Linked DNA regions of Homo sapiens: region 1 is linked to region 2. The links are contacts of gene promoters, found by promoter capture Hi-C in human tissues and cell types (Jung and others, 2019). All regions are on one chromosome and are shown on one strand. The core of a region is centred on a gene start or on the middle of the fragment in contact, and the rest is flanking DNA. Distances in the headings are between cores, read along the strand shown. Region 1 overlaps MIDEAS (mitotic deacetylase associated SANT domain protein). Region 2 holds the start of ACOT6 (acyl-CoA thioesterase 6).

Region 1 (6,929 bases), core at 1,433-3,932, 140 kb before region 2:
AGTTATATGCCCCATTTAAAACTTTGTTGGTCACAACTACGGTGGCTGCTTCCTGTTTCCACCATCCCACGTGGGACCTGTGTGCCAGCCTGTGGAGCCTCGCGCGGGGGGCGGTGGGATGGGGGAAGAGAGGCTGGCCACGGAGGCCCCGGTGGCCCGCGTATGCAGGGGATCCCTGTTGGCAGCTGCGGCTGGGGGAGGGAGGGGATGTCTGGCTTGCTCCAGCAGGGGGAGCCTGGCCAGGTGATCTGGGATCTTCTTGTTCCTGTAGCTTCAGGGTTGAGACTGAAGGCCTAGTGAAGGTGGACCGAGAAGCCAGTCCTCCCTAGGGGGCCTCAGCTGAGGGGAGAAACCACCTGTCTTGCTCTAGAGCCTCCCACCAAAGGTGTGGCACACGCCCCTTTTGGATCAGAGAAATGCACCCTTTCCTTGGGTGTTAAGTGGCTTCAGAACCCAGGGAAAAGGAGAAGCCTTCCCGGGTTGAGAATTCGTAGGTCTTCCTTTTCCAACTGCTCTGGACAGTGAATAATAGGAGCGTAAACATTCAATTACTGTGATAAACCATCTCGTTGCATGGCCCTGGTCCAGTCTCCACTCTAATTGGATTGGCCTCTGGCTGGTTACTCTGGTCCGTGTAGCTCCCGGGGGGACAAGGGGGTGAAGAACCTGGAGGATGCCCCCAGGTCATACAGCTTGCCAGCTTGCTCTGGAACAGCCTAGCCACTGCCAGTGTGGCCTCTCCAAGTGCCAGCAGAACCCCCACTCCCGTGACTCTGTCAGCTCCTCACCCCGCCCCAGGAAAGAGCGCCCTGGAGTGCCCATGGGGATGAGAATTTAATTTTTACATGTGGGATTTTAAAATAGCCCCAGTGTTTGACCCTGTGTGCTGCTGCTTTCAATAAGTGGAACACAAGAAAAGACAACATGCAGTTGTGGATTCAGCTGAGGGCCTCCTGTGTCTAGAGTCCCCAGAGAAAGGCTGCCCAGGGGTGCCAAGACCTCTGACAGAAGAGGGGAAGGGGAATGGGCCCAGTCCAGGAATCTTCAGGTTGAGAGCCCCTCTCTTGCATTTGGGTCTCCCAGAAGAAAACTTTGCTCATGCTGGGGTGGGGACAGCCACAAAGTGGCTGGGGGTTTCCAGCTTATCCTTCTAATCCTGTTTCAAATGCCACTTCTGAAGGCTGTAGCCATCTTCTGAACACTCATTTCCACCTTATGTAGTTATTTGTGTACATACTGCAGTGTGGTGGTCAAAAACAAAGACTCTGAGTTAGAGTTCCTATACAGTATCTCCTTCATAGAGTTGCTGTGAGGATTCTGTGAGTTAGTATACGTAAAATGCTTAAAGCACATTTCAGTATTTGGTAGCCTCTGCTTGAATGGGTCCCACAATGCTGCTTGGCATCTAGTAAGTGTTTAGTGTTTTTTTTTTTTTTTGGTTGTTAGAGATAGGGTCTTTCTCTGTCGCCCAGGCTGGAGTGCAGTAGTGCGATCTCAGGTCGCTGCAATCTCAGCCTCCTGGGCTCAAGCAATCTTCCCACCTCAGCCTCCCAAGTAGCTGGGACTACGGGTACACATCACCACACCTGGCTAATTTTTCTATTTTTGTAGATATGGGGTTTTGCCATGTTGCCCAGGCTGGTCTTGAACTCTTGGGCTCAAGAAATCCACCCACTTTGGCCTCCCAAAGTGCTGGGATTACAGTCTTGAACTACCTCACCTGGTCTTAGTGCATGTTAGTTGAACAAATTAGTGAAAGATCTCCATCAAAAAAAATGTGTACTTGTCATGTGTTGGGCCCAGTGAGTCCCTGCTCCTGGAACCTCCTCAGATTGCATCACTGGTTTCAAAAATGTCAGTCCACCGTGGGTGATTCTGGGGCTGGTGAACCCAGTTTCCTGGCACTGCCCTGTAGCTGGCCTTGTGGAGTGCATGTGTCGGTCATCCTGACCCTAAGGGGACCTCAGGGTGAAAGAGTTGTGGAGCCATCTCCCTAGGGATCTGCTAGCCTGGGCACTTCCTTTGGTCAGCCCAGATTGGCACCCTTCCTGTGTGTGTGCAGGCGTGCATGCATCAGTACAGAAGCAGCCTGGGGCTCCATTCTTCCCTGACTCACTGCAGGTGGCAGGAAGCAGAGCCAGTGGCCGCATTCTGTTGGAGGAATTGCTTCTTTCTGCACATGAGAACTCTTGACTCTGGGACTGAAAAATTGCATGCTGGGCCGGGGCTAGGGTGGAGTAGGCTGAAATCCCCAATTCTTACTAAGGGACCTGCATTTGCATTCGAAGCAACATTCAGGATACTGTGAGACTATGAGCTCATTTTATGAATCAGAAGCATTACAGCATAACTTTAATGTTGGAAACTGCAATTTGGAATCCAGATCACCCTCCCTCCACCTCAGCGCGCACGCGCGCGCGCACACACACACACACACACACACACACACTGACATGGGCTCTCGCAGTCACACACTTGGGAGCAATAATAGTTGGAGCATCAGTTCAGATTCTGGAGGCCTCCAGCAAAATTCATCCACACCGACTTCTGCTTCCACACTCAGAACGCCGTTCCTGGATGGTGTGTGGACAGTCACTTGGGCAGTGACTGAAGGAAGTCTGATGGGTGCGTGGGAATGAGGCCTGGGCAGACCTGAGTTCATACCCCAGCATCTCCTCTTGCTGTGTGGCTTTGGGCATTGCTTAACTTCTTGGGCCTCAGTTGCCTCACCTGTAAAATGTGGATGATACTAGTACTTCATAGGCTGTGAAGATTAGACAGGATTATGCATGCAGAGTGAATGACACATACTAGGTATTCAACAGATGGCAACTCTCATTTCACCAGTTCCCACTGGATCCAGTGTGTTTGCCTTTGACTCCTATCAAGGAAGAGAAAATGAAGGGTGTCCTGTTTATAGTAGGAAAGCAATCTACCAGGCCACTGAAGCTTGTATAAATGAAGTTTATTGTGCCCTGGGAACAACAGCTTGATCCACTCCACCCTAGACATGTGGCCCAGACCCAGTGTCTGTGTGCCTTTGAGAGGGACTGTGGCCCTGCAGCCGAGGGTTGAGGGCCCAGCTTCCCAGAGATCAGATTGTGCTCTCAGGAACCTACCCGCCCAGGCCCCAGGCTGAGCTGCTCACGTGGGTGGGCAGGAGGAAGGCTGCTTTCTCAGCCAAGGAAAAAAAGTCCCCTGTTTGCTTCACCTGAAGCCTCGCAGTGTGACCTCGCAGGAGGTTTGGGTAGAGCCAAGGGTGGGAGTTTTTCCTTAAAGACTGCTTTGGCTCTTTTACCCATTAAAATTATGTGCAACGGTGAAGGAAACACCAAGAATTATATAAGAAGAAAGTTGCCACTGTCAGAGGAGAGCCGGAGTTGTGCTGGGGTGGGGCTGGGGGTCTCCCTGAGGGCTGCAGTTGCTGGCTGTCATTCTCGGCTGGTGGGGAAGAGCTGGTGGGGAAGAGCCGGGGCTTGGGGCTGAGGCTTCCCTGGCAGCCGCCCTTGCTGTTGCTCTTCCTGGAACACAGCCTCGTGCTGTGGCCAGCCAGGGAAGGTGCTCCCTGTTCCCTCTGCCTTTCTCCCAGCCGCAGGGAGCTTTCGTGGTGAGAGCATTTTTTCCAGGCAGTGCTTCTTCCTTCAGGAGTCCTGGGAAGGAAGGAGAGTGGGGAAAGCACAGGGCAAGGTTTATCCCAGTTAAAGCTTGGATGGAGAGAGTGAGCTACAGTAGGCTTGTAGCTGGCCAGAAGGGGCTTCTCTCTAAAGCCGCTCAGCTTCTCTGGGGAATTGGAATCCAGACAAGAAGGAAAATGGTGAGAGATTTTGATTCCCTGCTTTTCCCAGTAGTTGGGCAGACAGAGGACCCTATCCAACTTACCGTTGCCAGAACTTGCCATTTCTTTAGTAGGTAAGGCCCCCATAGCTCAGAAATGGGCTTAAGTGATAACTTGCAACCCCGAGACGGCATGTGAGCTGGCAGTTCCTGGCACAGATCCTCCTCCCCTCCTGGCCTTCCTCTGTCTGAGGCCCCAGCTGGTCTTGGGTCATAGTCCTAATTCCAGAGCTGGGAAACCATTTGGGACATCTAGTCCGAATCCTTCATTTTCAAATGGGGAAGCCGAGAGGTGGTGAGATGCTTGAGGTTGTAAAGACTGTCTCCACTTTCACTTTGGGAGGGTGGAAAGGGACTGCTCCTGTGTCCTGCGCCTGGTGGCTGCTTCTCCCAGTTTGGAAGCTGGGAGGGCAGCTTGAGCGCAGGAAGAATCCAAAGGAATACTGTCTTGGCTCCTGGGTGTGGCTCAGTCCTCAGCTGGCTCCATAGTTATTTATTTGTTTGCATGTGCGTGAGTGAGTCCTGTGGTTGGGAGGCTGGATCTGAGTGAAAGCAGAAGTACCCACACTGTGTCAGCTGTGCAGCACACAACGGGGGACAGTTGGGAGGGGAAAAACGGGGCAGAGGCCCATCTGCATGGTGGCTGCTAGTTGTGCTTTCTGTCCCTGTTGCAGTGCTTGCACACTTGAGTGTAAACAGCCCTTCTGTGTTGCTAGCAGCTGCCTTTCCTTACTGGCTTTGGGCAGAAGAGGCGCCAAAAATAACCAGGCGGGCACTTCCACTTGTGGGACATTTACTGTGGTGGCCTCTGGGCAGGCTTGCTTGCTTTCTGTAGGCCCTGTGTCTCTGCCACACTGGAGTCCCTTCTACTTCCTGCAGCCCTTCCTCAGCCTCCCTCTGGCCATCGCACCTTCCCCTTTATTGCTCTTCTTAGAGTGAATCCAGGAGGTGGCGGCTCATCCTTTGGGCCTGGAAGCTCTGCCGGTATTATCTGGGAAATACCCTCATCCCCCTGTATCCCTGTAGGCAGGCCCTGCTGGCATAGCTGAGTTTAAAGGAGGCCTGTGCTGGGTGCCCTCTGGACTTTCTGGCCAGACCTCTCTCTCCTGGGTCTGTAGGCCGGAAGCTCTGCGTGCCTGCAGAGCCCCACACTGTTGCTAGGACTTTGAGTCTCCCTGTCCCGCCCTTGCCTGGCCAGCCTTGCTCTCAGCCAGCTGTGGAACTGGAAGAGTTGGACTATTCATTTCCTCCAAGGTGTTAAAGACTGATAACGATGTCTGAGCCACCCCTACCCAGCAAGGGAGACAGGAAACACATTTATTGAGTGCGTACCCTGTGCCAGGCGGCGCTTCATCTATGTATTACCTCATTGAATCCCACAATAACTGAGATGAAACTGTTGTGCCCATTCACCAATAGGGAACCCCAGGCTCACAGAGGCTGGTGATTGGAGAAGCCAGCACACATTGCCCCTGACTACTTTTACCCTGCAGCTCCCACACTTCCTCCGGCTATTTTCATGTGCACAAGGAACAATGCTTTGATCCTTGGTATGAAGTGCTGATAGTAGGAATTCAGGCACCATTAGACTGGCTGGTAGGGGAGATATCTTGGGCTGGGAAGGGTGGGGAAGACCTCCCTGCTGCCTCCCTCTCCAGATGCTTCACAGGGCAGCCAGGAGCCCAGCCTTGAGCCCTGAGGCCCTTCTGTGGAGGACTCAGCTGTGGGCCTGGGGACTGCTCGGCCAGGCACATGCACAGGAAGAGGGGAAAGGCTTGGTTTCAGCTTAGTGTGGGCTTCCTGGGGACCTCCCAAGTGTGTCCTCCCCCTTAAAGGTATCCCAGCCTCTGAGGTACTGAGAACAGCTCTGGGGAATCAAAGGCTGGGGCTAGGTGGAATCTTTGGTCTCCCTTCTTGGCTGCTGGGTCTGACCTGGGGCCCATCATTCCAGCTGGCTTGGCCCAGGTCCCAGAGAGTCTGGTTGGTGTGTACTTGGGGCTTGGGCTGGATGCTCTGCTGTGCCCGCATGCTGTGCCAAAGGCCTCTGGGTGTATTTCAGGAACAATAAAGAATAAATCAACATAGGAGAAAAGGCCCTGCAGCAGCTGCTCAGAGACTGGAGAAATGCAAAGAATGTGTGAGCCTTTGGCAAAAGTCTTGCATCTTGACCAGGGCCTGAGGAAGGGCGTGAGGCTGATGTGATGGCTCTGGAGTCAAATGGGCGTCTGTCTGTGCCCAGTTTGCAGCCCTTCTAGGAGGCCCCAGGCAGCCACACTGAGACTCCCCTCCCTCTGCTGGTGGCAAATTTTTTTGCTTCCTGGTCGCTAGCATGTACTAGGGAGCCATATTGCCCCCGTTCTTTACTCTCACACTACACTGCCAGACACCGACCCATCCAACCCCCAAGCACCAGGTGGGTCTTGGCCCTTTCCAGCCCTGACCAGTCAGGAGAGCCTGGGTTGATGAAGACTTGGTAGGCTTGACACACATGCTACACCCCCTGCTTTACCTCCCCCAGACGAATGTCAAGGACCTGGCAATGCCAGGTCTAGGGGTGCTAAGTGTGAGAACATCTACCTGGGAGGCCGTCACTATAGCTCTGCTCAGGTAGTCAGCCATGTGTCCTTAGGCAGGTCATTTTACCTTTGAGGTCTTGGTTCTATGAGCCATGAAATTGAGGTTTGGACAAATGATCTTTGGAGTGAGTGGGCACCTCTGTCTCCTCTACTCGGGATGTGCGATGAATATATTTTATTTAGGAAGTTAAGTTATTGGGAGAAGCAACACTCTGAGAGCACCATGTGGAGATATGGGTGGCTGTGGCTGGGGGCTAATGCTCAGTGTCCTGAGTGGGGGAACCCAAGCAGAGACCTGATTTGACCCAGAGCTCAGGGTGCCAGGAGAAGGGACAGGAGCCTAGACTCCATGGGGACTTGAGTTATCTGACAAGCAGGGGAGAGCCAAGACTTTATTTATTTTTTTGAGACAGAGTTTTGCTCTTGTCGCCCAGGCTGGAGTGCAGTGGTACGATCTTGGCTCACTGCAACCTCTGCCTCCTGGGTTCAAGCGATTCTTCTGCCTCAGCCTCCCGAGTA
Region 2 (6,757 bases), core at 2,801-5,300:
TGCAACAGACACCCGGCTAATTTTTTTTGTATTTTTAGTAGAGACTGGGTTTTGCCATGTTGGCCAGGCTGGTCTTGAACTCCTGACCTCAGGTGATCTGCCCACCTTGGCCTCCCAAAGTGCTGCGATTACAGGTGTGAGCCACCGCAACCGGCCTAAAACTTTTTAATGATATAAATTATTGTCACACCACTGCACTCCAGCCTGGGTGACAGAGTGAGACTCTATCTCAAAAATAATAATAATAATAATATTATTTTCACAAACAAAAATAAACCAAGTTAGAAATAACATAATGAGGCCAGGTGTGGTGGTTCATGCCTATAATCCCAGTGCTTTGGGAGGTCAAGATAAGAGGACCACTTGAGGCCAGGAATTCACGACCAGCCTGGGCAACATAACAAGACCCATCTCTACAAAAAAGTTTAAAAAACTAGCTGGGCATGATGGCACTTGCCTATAGTCTTAGCTACTCAGGAGGAAGAGGCGGGAGGATCATCTGAGCCCAAGAGTTCCAGTTTGTGGTGACCTGTGATCACACCACTGCACTGTAGCCTGTAGATCACTGTAACCTTGAATCCTTGGGCTCAAGTGACCCTCCAGCCTCAAGAAGCCACCCTCCCAAGTAGCTAGGCCCCTATGCTTGGCTAATTTTTAACTTTTTATAGAAATAGGGTCTCACTATGCTGCCTGGGCTAGTCTCAAACTCCTGGCCTCAAGCAATCCTCCCACTGCAATGCTCCCACCTCGGCCTCTTCAAGTGCTGGGATTTTAAGTGCGAGCCACTGCACTCAGCCTGTTTGTTTGTTTGTTTGTTTGTTTGTTTGTTTGTTGAGACAAGGTTTCACTCTTGTTGCCCAGGCTGCAGTGCAATGGTGCGATCTCGGCTCACTGCAACCTCCGTCTCCCCCCGGGTTCAAGCGATTCTCCTGCCTCAGCCTCCCGAGTAGTTGGTATTACAGGCATGTGCCACCACACCTGGCTAATTTTGTATTTTTAGTAGAGATGGGGTTTCACCATGTTGGTGAGGCTGGTCTCAAACTCCTGACCTCAGATGATCCGCCCACCTTGGCCTCCCGAAGTGTTGGGATTACAGGCGTAAGCCACTGCGCCCAGTCTTGTTTTTTTTTTCGTTGTTGCTGGTTTTTTTTGTTTTTTGTTTTTTTTTTTTTTTTTTTATCAGACAGAGTCTCTCTCTGTTGCCCAGGCTGGAGTGATGTGGTGTGATTTTGGCTCACTGCAACCTCCACCTGCCGGGTTCAAGCAATTCTCCTGCCTCAGCCTCCTGAGTAGCTGGGATTACAGGCGCCCGCCACCATGCCCGGCTAATTTTTTGTATTTTTAGTAGAGACAGGGTTTCACCATCTTGGCCAGGCTGGTCTTGAACTCCTGACCTCGTGATCCACCCACCTTGGCCTCCCAAAGTGCCGGGATTAGAGGCGTGAGCCACCGCGCCTGGCCGCCTTGTTTTTTTTTTTGAGATGGAGTCTTGCTCTGTCCTCCAGGCTGGAGTGCAACGGTGCGATCTTGGCTCACTGCAACCTCTGCCCCCTGGGTTCAAGAGATTCTCCTGCCTCAGCCTCCTGAGATTACAGGCACCCACCACCATGCCCGGCTAACTTTTGTATTTTTAGTAGAGACGGGGTTTCACCATGTTGGTCAGGCTGGTCTCGAACTCCTGACCTCAGGTGATCCACCTGCCTCGGCCTCCCAAAGTGCTGGGATTACAGGCGTGAGCCACTGCGCCCGGCTCCTTGTTTGTTTTTAATGAAAGGTTTTAGTTGATTCTTAGTCAGTGTGATTTTTTTTTTTTTTTTTTTGAGACAGGGTCTCGCTCTGTCGCCCAGGCTGAAGTGTAGTGGCGCAATCTTGGCTCACTGCAACCTCAGCCTCCCGGGTTCAAGCGATTCTCCCACCTCAGCCTCCCTAGTAGCTGGGACTACATGTGTGAGCCACTATGCCTGGCTAATTTTTTTGTATTATATAATTAGTAGAGGTAGGGTTTTGCCATGTTGGCCAGGCTAGTCTTGAACTCCTGGCCTCAAGTGATCCACCCACCTCAGCCTCCCAAAGTGCTAGGATTACAGGTGTGAGCCACTGCGCCTGGCCCAGTCAGTATGATTTATTGAGCTCCTACTATATCCTTGCGAAAGCCTCTAGGAACATGGATATTTAGAAATCTGTAAGACCCAATTCCAGCCCCAGGAATTCACAGTACAGTGGGCAGCCACGAGTTAAGGCTAAGAATTGCTGAAGAGCTGTAAAAATAAAGCAAGTTTTCTTGTTTTGGAGAATAATCACAGAATTCGGTTTAAGGATTCTATGTGCTGTTGCAACTCTAGAATTTGTTGTTGTTGTTGTTGTTTGAGGCAGGGTTTCACTCTGTTGTCCAGGCTGGAATGCAGTGGCGTGATCTCAGCTCACTGCAACCTCTACTTCCTGATATCAAACAATCCTCCCACCTCAGCCTCCCAAGCAGCTGGGACTACAGGCATGCACCACCATGCCTGCCTAATTTTTTTTTTTTTTTTTTTTTTTTTGTAGAGACAGAGTTTCACCATGTTGCCCAGGCTGGTCTTGAACTCCTGGGCTCAAGTGATCTGCCCACCTCAGCCTCCCAAAGTGCTGGGATTACAGGCCTGAGCCACTGTGCCCGGCTCATCATTTTTATATGGTAGAGGTTTAAGTCAGGAATTTAGTTAGAAGGGATTAATCAGGAGTCTTCTTTCTGGGCTACCTTTACCTAGCAAACATCCTGTGTTTACTTAGACTAGGGTTCCTCAACCTCAGTAGTACAGACATTTTCAGCAAGATAATTCTTTGTTCTGGTGGTTGTCCTGTGCATTGTGGAATGTTTAGCAGCATCTCTGGCCTCTGCCTGCTAGATGCCAATAGCACCTCTCCCTTCAGATATGACAACCACAAATGTCTCCAGATATTGCCAAATTTCCCCCAGGGAGGGCGGCTAATCATTGCAGGTTGAGAACCACGTACAGCATGTTTATGATAGAAGGGAGAGGACTGTCAGGCAGTTTTGTGTGTGTTTTTAAACAATTAAAGGGCATTGCCAATACTGTGGATTTTAGCTTCTTTGGAAGTTTGATGTGAAAGGAGGCAAAAATCCTTCTTGCACATCAGCTTAAGGTTTTGCCCATATCGTATTCAAACAAAACCACATGGCTGGCACATAGTGGCTCTCAATAAATATATAATAAGTTGAATGCACTATTCAGCACATAGCTAAAGTGGTGGTGCCTCCAGGGAGGGACGTGAAACTTAAAAAGGAAAGACTGGAGTAGCTACTCAGGAGGCTGAGGCGAGAGGACTTGAGCCCAGGAGTTCGAGGCTGCAGTGTGAGCTACGATCCAGCCACGGCACTCCAGCCTGGGCAACAGCGGACGCCCAGACTCAGAATCCATGACAGACTCTGGAGCGAAGGAACAAGTTCAGGGATGTTCCACAATCACGCGATTCCCAGGACAGGAAAGGGGCCGGTGGGGGTCGCAGAGCTCGACCAAATTCTGGGCAGACTACTCATCCGGCGGCAGGAAGAGCGCGGCGCGCACCGGGCCCGCGCGCACCGGCTCGCGCCGCACCCCCGGCCGGAGAAAGTCGCGCTTGTTCTGCGCCAGGCACAGCAGCCGCCCGGGCTCGGTGTCGTGGCCGTCCAGCACTTCCAGCTCCACGGCGAAGGGCGTCCGCACGTCGCGCTTCACCAGCCGCACCAAGGCTTTCTCGGGCTCCAACGCCCACAGCAGCCCCATGGGCTGGAGCCCCGCGAAGCTGCCTCCCAGCGCGGGCGCGCGCTCCAGGTCCAGCTCGTCGCGGGCGTCGGCACGGTAGCGCGCGTGGGCCCGGAAGAGCGCGCCCTCTTCGTCGCGCAGGGACGTGCGCAGCGTGACTGGCTGCTCCGGGGCCAGGCCGCGCACTGCGATGCGCAGCGGCTCGTCCCAGCAGCAGCGGCCCGCGGGCTCCAGGATCAGCGTCGCTGCCATCCCAATCTGGGTAGAACAGGGGCGACCCAGCTCCGCGGAGTCAGTGGGCGGGCCTGGCGGCTTTGCCGAGCGCTGGAAAGTAGTCGAGGGCGGAGCCCTTAACACTACTCCCATTGGTTGGACTTGGGGACAGGCTCCAGGCCGCTGCGTGGGGCGCCTAGAATTTGTGCAAATACACCAGTGTCCCAAATGAAAGAGTATCTGCTGAAATAAGAGTTAATGACCAATCCGGCCGGGGGCGGTGGATCACGCCTGTGATCCTAGAACTTTGGGAGGCCGAGGTGGGTGGATCACACCTGAGGTTAGGAGTTCAAGACCAGCCTGACCAACAGAGTGAAACCTCATCTCTACTGAAAATACAAAATAGCCAGGTGTGGTGGCGCATGCCTGTAATCCCGGCTACTTGGGAGGCTGAGGCAGAAGAATTGCTTGAACCCAGGAGGCAGAGGTTGCATTGAGCCAAGATTGCACCATTGTACTCCAGCCTAGGCAACAAGGGCAAAACTCCGTCTAAAAAAAAAAAAAAAGAGTTAATGACTATTCCTGCAATCCAATGTGGTGAGTGTCGAAATAGAGGCACAAAAACCACTGAGAGCTAAAGGATTGAGAGAGATACAGTCCAAGAATCTAGATTTTGAAAAAGCATCCCAGGTGATTGTACTCAGGTGACCCCTTGGAGAAACATGGTCGTAATCCGTCCTTTACCCCTCAGTCCCTTACCAAGCCTTTTTTCCAGGGCTAATGGTACCTGGAGCAAAGCAGATGTTTAGGGAGGCAGACCTAGCCGAGTTCTGGTCTGACCCTGATCCTTAATATTAATACCTGGTGATCTTTAGCAAGAAACATAACCCTCTAAATTCAGTTTTCTTATCTGAAAAGGCTTATTGTGACCATTAAATGGGCTAATGTGTAAAAACACTACACTGACACACCTGTAGGTTAGTACCCAGTGAAAGTTTTGTTTTGTTTCTTACCTCACAAATCTAATCACTGGCAGAGTCCATTTTGGGTTGTATGCATACAGAGTTCTGGCAGTAAGCAAGTGGCACTCTCAGCCTGTGTAATTGAGGAGAGTTTTATAAAGGTACTATCTACAAAGGCATGGGCAAGATTTAAAAACAAAAACAATGAAACAAGATTCGGTGTAGAACCCTGAATCTGAAGGTTCAAGGGAAGGGGGCAGTCTGATAGGAGTTGTACCTTTTTTAGAAGGAACCTATGGTTTGTGGCAGGAAGGAGGAGACTATAAGTCCCTTGACTCTCCTCTTGTTTTTCAGTATCTTGCTAATGCCTCTCTTTGGCCAAACCCAACCACACAGCTCAACCTAGCTGGGAACATAGCAGGGTGGAGAAGGAAGAAGAGCATATAGTGATGCCCAGCTCAGTAAACATGTATAAACTGAACAAAAAGGTATTAGACTCTATGAAGCAAGTTCACTGTATGCTGGTTACCAACTTGTCTGAGTCCAGTGAGAAAACACATTCATATATTTAATACAACAATTTACATGAACTGGATTTATTACTTACAGATAGGCAGCAAAGAATGACAGAAGCCTAAGAATCATTGGAAACCAGTCCCCCAAGGCTCAGGAATGCTGCCTGGGTGATGGAATCTCATGTGTGTGTGCCCCACTTGCACTGCAGCTGCCCTGAGTTTTGTACTCTGGGGTCATGTGACTGCTGGGTTAAAGCATTGAAAGACATCCTGTTTGTAGGGAGGGGCTGGAATAGAGCCAGGGCTATTCCAGCCAGTCCGTCCCTCTCTCAGGATGTTACATTCCCAGCACGTTCTATGCTTGAGAACTACTAGTGAGAAAGAGGGGAGAACTGAGTCAGTCCAAGGCCAACCAGAGAACTGCCCTGCAGTCCATCCCCAACCCAGATACCTCCTTTAGTAAACCTAGTACATTTCATATGCCCTCCAGACCCCCAGGATCTGGAGGCAGAGGTTTGTCTGATCATATTAATATGGCACCTTGGTCGGGCACGGTGGCTAATGCCTGTAATCCCAGCACTTTGGGAGGCCGAGGGGGGCGGATGACTTGGGGTCAGGAGTTTGAGACCAGCCTGGCCAACATGGTGAAACCCTGTCTCTACTAAAAATACAAAAATTAGCTGAACGTGGCAGCACGCGCCTGTAATCCCAGCTATTCAGAAGGCGGCGGCAGGAGAATTGCTTGAACCCGGGAGGTGGTGATTGCAGTGAGCCGAGATCTCGCCACTGCTCTCCAGCCTGAGCGACAGAGCAAGACTCCCTCTAAAAGAAAAAAAAAAAAAAGCGACACTTGACTGAAACAATCTCGGTGCAACATTGTTAAGCCATGGCCGGAATATATTGCATTAGGCCCAGGAGACTACTATAATAAGCAGGATGATCAGGCTTGCTTGGAGCTGTGGCCTACCCCCAAGTCCTAGTGATCCAGGCAAGAAGTTTTGAGGTCCAAGAAAGATTCTTTAGGTAGCCACTCTGACTGCAACCAGTAGGCCTGCTTCCAGATCCTCTACCTATGTCTCCACCATGCCTGAGGTGTTTATCCAGGTACACCAGGAGGTGTTGGCAGTGGCACACACTCCTCCCAATTAGTCTAAAAAAAAAAAGGGTAGAGGAATTCTGTTGTTTAAAACAACCTGGCCAGGCGCGGTGGCTCATGCCTGTAATCTCAGCACTTTGGGAGGCTGAGGCGGGTGGATCACGAGGTCAGGAGTTTGAGACCAGTCTGGCCAACATGGTGAAACCCCGTCTCTACTAAAAATACAAA

The links. Contacts are between HindIII fragments. The study calls those that stand out against the background at their distance.
Region 1: a fragment that was not itself captured here is called in contact with the fragment with the promoter of ACOT6 in region 2 in 1 of the 25 tissues and cell types used here (hippocampus).

The regions. Positions count from the first base shown.
Region 1 is chr14:73,751,788-73,758,716 of GRCh38, reverse strand. The region is part of intron 1 of MIDEAS (mitotic deacetylase associated SANT domain protein); the gene reads left to right. Among named protein-coding and RNA genes, the nearest start is that of MIR4505, 3.5 kb to the left of the region's middle. RefSeq lists enhancers at 397-446, 2,138-2,217, 3,621-3,700, 3,731-3,800, 4,101-4,350 and a silencer at 2,057-2,351. The HindIII fragment of the contact is 7,118 bases long and covers 1-6,241 here.
Region 2 is chr14:73,609,810-73,616,566 of GRCh38, reverse strand. ACOT6 (acyl-CoA thioesterase 6) reads right to left here and starts at 4,050. Exons shown (of 3, transcript NM_001365788.1): 1 at 3,535-4,050. The coding sequence starts at 3,995. It also overlaps a transcript of HEATR4 not described here. RefSeq lists a silencer at 2,470-2,714 and enhancers at 3,790-3,839, 3,373-3,872, 3,890-3,939. The HindIII fragment of the contact is 22,654 bases long and covers 1-6,757 here.